2 separate regions of the Homo sapiens genome follow, and region 2 is linked to region 1. Evidence: promoter capture Hi-C in human tissues and cell types (Jung and others, 2019). All regions are on one chromosome and are shown on one strand. Each heading gives the region's core, a stretch centred on a gene start or on the middle of the fragment in contact. The rest is flanking DNA. Distances are from core to core; before and after follow the strand shown.

The links. Contacts are between HindIII fragments. The study calls those that stand out against the background at their distance.
Region 2: a contact is called between a fragment that was not itself captured here and the fragment with the promoter of CCDC15 in region 1, in 4 of the 25 tissues and cell types used here (dorsolateral prefrontal cortex, heart left ventricle, hippocampus and 1 more).

The regions. Positions count from the first base shown.
Region 1 is chr11:124,952,554-124,955,789 of GRCh38, reverse strand. CCDC15 (coiled-coil domain containing 15) reads right to left here and starts at 1,588. Exons shown (of 16, transcript NM_025004.3): 1 at 1,420-1,588; 2 at 881-1,066. The coding sequence starts at 1,057. CCDC15-DT (CCDC15 divergent transcript) reads left to right here and starts at 1,799. Exons shown (of 3, transcript XR_948134.3): 1 at 1,799-2,308. RefSeq lists an enhancer at 1,385-1,928. The HindIII fragment of the contact is 10,363 bases long and covers 407-3,236 here.
Region 2 is chr11:125,465,884-125,468,957 of GRCh38, reverse strand. The region is part of intron 3 of FEZ1 (fasciculation and elongation protein zeta 1); the gene reads left to right. Among named protein-coding and RNA genes, the nearest start is that of FEZ1, 29 kb to the left of the region's middle. The HindIII fragment of the contact is 4,328 bases long and covers 1-3,074 here.

The DNA of each region.
Region 1 (3,236 bases), core at 339-2,838:
CATAAATAAAATGAATATAGTATATTGCATTACTTTAACATTTAAACACATCTCATTTCTCTTCTGAGATCAAGTACACTGAGGGAACATATCTCATCCTTTTTTCATCCATGTTCAGCACCTTGTCTACACATACAGAAGACATTTTGTGCCTTTCATAAATACTTCATGAGTGTCTATATTGATTAGGCAGTATTTAAGATAAAAGTGGGAATGTGATGATAAATGACATTTGTTCTCTACGCTCAAGGAGCTCACACTGCATCAGGAAAAGATATATAAACAATCTACTATAACACAATGTGGTAAGTGCCAAGTTAAATTTGAACAAATAGCTAAGGGGCACAGTTTGGTGAAAGACTATCAGAAACCATGGAATTTCTAGTTAGACTTTCTCAGATTATCAGAGTTCATCTCTTTCTCCTTTATTCTATTACTCCATTTTGCCTGAATCCTCATTACAAAATTTATCATAAACCTTAAGCAACCAATTAATGTTACTTGAAGTATGCCAACTATCATCCATACTAAGTTGCAGTGTCTGGAAGATGTAGATAGTGCTTATGTCTTGGGCATAACAAGCAATCAAGAGTCTGAAGTAAACTGATATACAGATATATATCTATATAACCTGTTCCATGTAGATTATGCTCTATATATTATAGTAGGTGAGTAATAAATATTTGATTATGCCAACTAAAGCTGCAGTCAAGTTTTGGCAAATACTTGTTCTATAATCCTAATGCAAGAGCATAAACTATTTATGGCAGAATAGAAACAGCATCCTCGGACTGTTCATCTTTAAGCACCCAGGATTAGAGAAGGCTAATAAAAAGGGTGGTGGGGAACCCCACCATATTTGGATCAAACTGACACTCACATATGCTGGGATTTCCGAACTACCTGGTGAGGCAGGTTCCACCCATGCCCCAACTGGTACTATAGCCTCGTTCCTCTCAGCCAGCACTGCCAACACGTCCTTGCTCTTCAGGGGGTTTAAAGCCAGGGGCAACCTTGAGGTATTTCGAGGTTTCTTTCGGGCCATACTTCCCAGCATCTGTGACTCCTGATTAGGAGAAAGAAAAAGCTTAAAATCTTCAAATGACTGCATTAAAAGTTCAACCTCCTAACACATGAGCCACAGGCCCGTGAAAAGGAGAGAAGCCCTGGAGGCAGAAGCCTGGCATGAAGTGGAAACACACGGATTCTAGAGAAAAAGGAAGAAAAGAAGGGAAGAGAAATGGGAAGAAATAAAGAGGCAAAGAAAGGTTTTTAAGTTGCCTTCTAGAAGAAATGGCGATGAGAGGGAAGAGAAAGGATGGGAATGAGAGAACGAAGACTGTCCTCAGCTGTGGGCGCAGCGAGGCGGGAAGGGAGGAATGACAGCTGCAACCCGGAGAAAGAGGGAGGGGCGGGGACCTGTGTCTGCAGCCGAGAGTCCCAATAATCGGTATAGGTTATGGGAAGACGCGCTGAACGGCTGGGAGCCTCGGGCCAGATAAAAGCCTGCTTCTGAGGCCCCGAGGCCTGCTCCGGCTGAGATGGCACTGGCCAGGAATCGGCCCGCAGCTCGCCACAGACTCAGTCTACTCGGAGTACTAAGGTAACCGCCTCAAGTAGACCGCCACTTTGCGGTGGGCTGCTCCGTCCCGCCCATCCGTAGCCTTATGCCCGCCCTTTCCGGAGCCCGCGTCCCCTCCCGGAGCTGGGAAGGCGTGAGAGGTGGAGTTTCGAGCGCCCGAGGTATCGTCATTTCCTCTTCCTGTCCGGCTGAGGGGGCGGGGACGTGTGGGTAAGCGGAGTCGCTGGGTAATGCGCCATGTGAGGCGCGGTGGGACTGTCGTTCCTGGACCAACGCCGAGACTTCCTAAATCCCTCCGGAAAGGGATGCGTTGGGCCTGTGATCTGGCGACTAGGAGGGTCAGGAGTCCCAGTAGAGGGAATCACGGGAAAAGAATGAAAGAGGGAGGCGAGCCTGGCACGGCTTCCTGGAGAAACAAACTAAGCTAACAAATTTTTCGGATCCTTTGTGCAGCTAATTTTACAGTACTGTTTCATACATCTTATTATATTTGGACATCACGGCCTGTTGAGTGGTCTCCCTCTCTGCTGCAAGCTCTGCTGTAATCCAGAGACACTCAATTATCTCTGTAGGATAATTTATTCATTCGATTAACATACATTACTACTAACTTTTTATAAACCAGTACTGTTCCAAGCACCGGAGATACATAGCTATGAACGAAACAAATATCCCTGCTCAGGGAATTCACAATAGAGTGAGGGGAAATAAGCGAATAAACAATGAGTAAGTAAATGTGTGTGATGTGGAGTAAAAGCAAAGAAAGCGGATAGGGAGTGTGGTGGGCAGGGTGGGGATTGGAGGGATGAAATATTAGAACGTCCAGAGAAGCTGCACTGAGATACTTTTCAGCAAAGACTTAAATGAGTTAATGGAAGAAGCCACTGTGCTCTTCAACGGAGGCTTTATAAACATGTTCCAGATATAACAGCAAGTATAAACGCCCCAAGGTGGAAGCATTGCCTGGTTGAGAAAAAGTCAGGAGGATAGTGTGACTGGAGCAGAGGGAGAGTGGAAGAATGCTGAGACAGTAGGTCAAGCAGGCAATCCGATCAAACATCGTAAGCCACCATAGGTGTTGAGATGGGGAGCCACTGGAGCAAGGTTTGGAGCAAAGGAACACCATAATGTGACAAAATTAAAAAAATAATAATTCCGAATGCTGTAGTGAGAATAGACTGTAAAGAAGACCAATTAGGTGGCTATTGCAATAATTCAGTTAAGGGATTGTGATGTCTTGGATCAAGGAGGTAGTGGTGGAGATGATGATAAGTGGTTGGATTCTGTATCTATTTGGGAGGCAAAACTTTCAGGATCTGTTGAAGGTTTGGATATGGATTGTGTGAGGGAGAGATGTCAAGGAAAACTAGGGGTTTCATCCTGAGCAGCTGTCAGGATGAAATTACTATTTACTGAGATAGTGAAGATGGTGGAAGGAGTAGATTTGGAAAGGGGAAGATCAGGAGTTCAGTTTGGGGCAGATAAAGTTTTATCTAATCAACATCCGAGAAGATAGTATGAGAAAAAGTGTCTGGAGCTCAGAGAAGGGTTCTGGGCTACAAATATAAATCTAAGAGTCGTTAGCCTGTAGATTTAAAGCCATGAGACTGGATGGAGTCATCAAGGGGTTGAATATAGACAGATAAAAGAATAA
Region 2 (3,074 bases), core at 69-2,568, 510 kb before region 1:
AACCTCCAGTTCAACCTGCTCAGAGTGAAGTCTACAGTCCTTTTGAGCTGAGAGGATGCAGTCCCTTTTTATCTGGGTTGGAAGAAGACACTTGGGTCTCATTATTCTTGATGAAGAATACCAGCAAATCTTCCTTACATAGCCCCGCCATGCTGCCCCTCGGGGTCTGCAATTCCTGAGCCATTCAGTATCTGCTGTGTGACCCCCTTTACCTTGGGCAGCCTGCTCTCGCCAAGTTTAACCCTGCTGAGCCTGCTGGGCCGGCGTCTGTTTTCTGGCATTTCTCTTGCTGTTGCCTTTTCTCCTGTTCACTTTGTCCCTTTTGGGTTATTCTTTTTTGATCCCTTGACTCTCATTTTAGTAGGGTTTGAGGAGGAAGGGCTGATAAATTTGTGCCCAATCTCCTGTGTACCCACCTTCTACTATAAAGAAATGGAAACAGGAAATCATTTTAAAAATTATGTTATGGGCTGGGTGTGGTGGCTCACACCTGTAAGCACAGCACTTTGGGAGGCTGAAGTAGGAAGATCACTTGAGCCTAGGAGTTAGAAGCCAGCCTGGGTAAAGATAAAGAGGGAGTATTGGACTCAATCTTTACAAAAAAATGAAAAAGTTTGCCATGAGTGGTGGTGTGCACCTATGTTCCTAGCTACTTGGGAGGCTGAGGTGGAAGAATTGCCTGATCCCAGGAAAGGGAGGCTGCAGTGGACTTTGATCATGTCATTGGACTCCAGCCTGGGTGATATTGTGAGACTCTGTTTAAAAAAAGAAAAAAAAAAGTTATTATGTGGATGATGCAAGAGAGACTGTGGAACTCTACTCAGAGTTTCATTGTAAGCTTGGTCCTACACTAGGAACTTGGTGAATAAATAAATGTACATTTACATTTTTAGGTCAAAATAATTTGCTTGAGTTAATATGTCTGTAGGAGGCATTATTATTTTTTTCACAATTTACCACTTTTACTGGGGCTTTCGATTCATCAATCTATTCTATTCCTGTGATGTAAAACACAGTCTCCTTTTACCTTATAACCTTTATTTAATAGCAGATAGTGGTTGTCTGGATAAGAGGAAATTGGAAGTCCAGGATAGTGAATTATGTCTTTCATATTTTTGAGACAGGATCTCACTATGTCACCCAGGCTAGAGTACAGTGGCAACAGTCATGGCTCACTACAGCCTCCACCTCCCTGGCTCAAGCAATCCTCCCACCTCCATCTCCTGAGTAGCTGGGACTACAGGTGTGCACCACCATGCCTGGCTAATTTTGTTCATTTTTTTTGTAGAGACAGAGTTTCACTATGTTGCCCAGGCTGGGCTCAAGTGACCCTCCCACCCTGGCCTCCCAAATTGCTGGAATTACAGGCATGAGACACCATGCCCAGTCACATCTTCCTCTTTTCCAGGTGACTAAATAGCTAAGTTACCTGTGGAAGTGGACTGAATCTAGATGATAGTACTGCTCTCAGTCCTCTCTTTTTCAATTGTTCATTAATTCTTTCAACAAATATGTGTTGGCTGCATGCCCTAGTGCATCTCCCTATGGGAATGCACAGCCATTGACTTAATCCACGCAGATGTTTCCTGGTTGTTCATAAGCATAAAAGGGACATAGTTACCAGGCACAGTGGCTCACACCTGTAATCCCACTCGGGAGGCTGAGGTGGGAGGATTGCTTGAGGCCAGGAGTTTGAGACCAGCCTGGGCAACACAGTGAGACCCCTATCTCTAAAAAAATTCAAAACAAAAAAAATCTTAGTCAGGTGTGGTGGCACCTGCCTGTAGTCCCAGCTACTTGGGAGGCTGAGGCAGGAGGATCACTCGAGCAAAGGAGTTAGAGGCTGCATTGAGCCATGATTGTGCCACTGCATTCCAGCTTGTGTGACACAGCGAGATCCTGTGTCTAAAAAAAAAAAAAATGGGACACAGTTGTTGTGAATTTCTTTTTTTTTTTTTACTTTTTGTCTGAAGGTAAAAATGTATCTTTGTTCTCTTAATTTTTGTCAGGGGGGCAACCACTCATGTCAAACAATAGTGGTAAGGGGAGGAAAATATTATGCAAAGGGCTAAATATGCTGTAAAAATTACCTTTTCTATGAATGGGGTCATTTGAAACACTTTAATAAAATACACTGGTTAATAGTCATTATTGGAATCAAGGGCTCCACATAATTTTAATCATCATTCAGAATACTTCACTGTGCAGCAAGATTTAGCAATGTTATAGGCCTTGGGGAAAGTTTTCTGCATTTCTTTTCAAGTTTCAAGCTTTCATGTTATAGTCCTAGAGACACACTCTTCCCAAAAGCAGGAGGAAGAAACAGCTTGCTGAATGGTATAGCCAGACCCCTTTCTGGATTCAAATCTTCTCAATTCTGGGAATAAATCATTTGGAAGAATGACTTTTCTTGGAAAAGCATAGTTCACGTCAATAGTATCCAAACAGCTAGCAAGGTGTTTTTTTTTTTAGACAGGATCTCACTTTGTCATCCAGGCTGGAGTGCAGTGGCATAATCACGGCTCACTGCAGCCTCACTGCAGCCTCCATCTCCATGGCTCAATTGATCCTCCCACCTCAGCCTCCTGAGTAGTTGGGACTACAGGTGTGCCATCATGCCTGACTAATTTTTCTATTTTTTTAGAGACGGAGTCTTGCCATGTTGCCCAGGTTGGTCTCGAACTCCTGGACTCAAGCAATCCTCTCATCTCGGCCTCCCAAAGTGCTGGGATTACAGGTGTAAGCCACCACATCTGGTAACAACTAGCAGTTTTAGCTGACAAAGAAATTCAGCCCTAAATGACCTGGCCTGAAGTTATTTTTGACATGTATCTTCCCCACTGCTGCACAAGGGGCTAAAGGAACTCTCTACCGTGATATCTATGTCAGTGTCTTATGCTAGGATTAAGAGTATTTATATGCACAAGGGCTGTCATTTTTCAAAAACCTTTCTTTCTTCCTCTGTCATTGTTTCCCCTCCAGCTCTCCACCCTGTGCACAAGATACTGTCCTGGTCAAGGAGGGGAGGGAAGGAGTCTGTAAACAGTGCCCGTAAAGAGGCAAGGGCTTGTGAA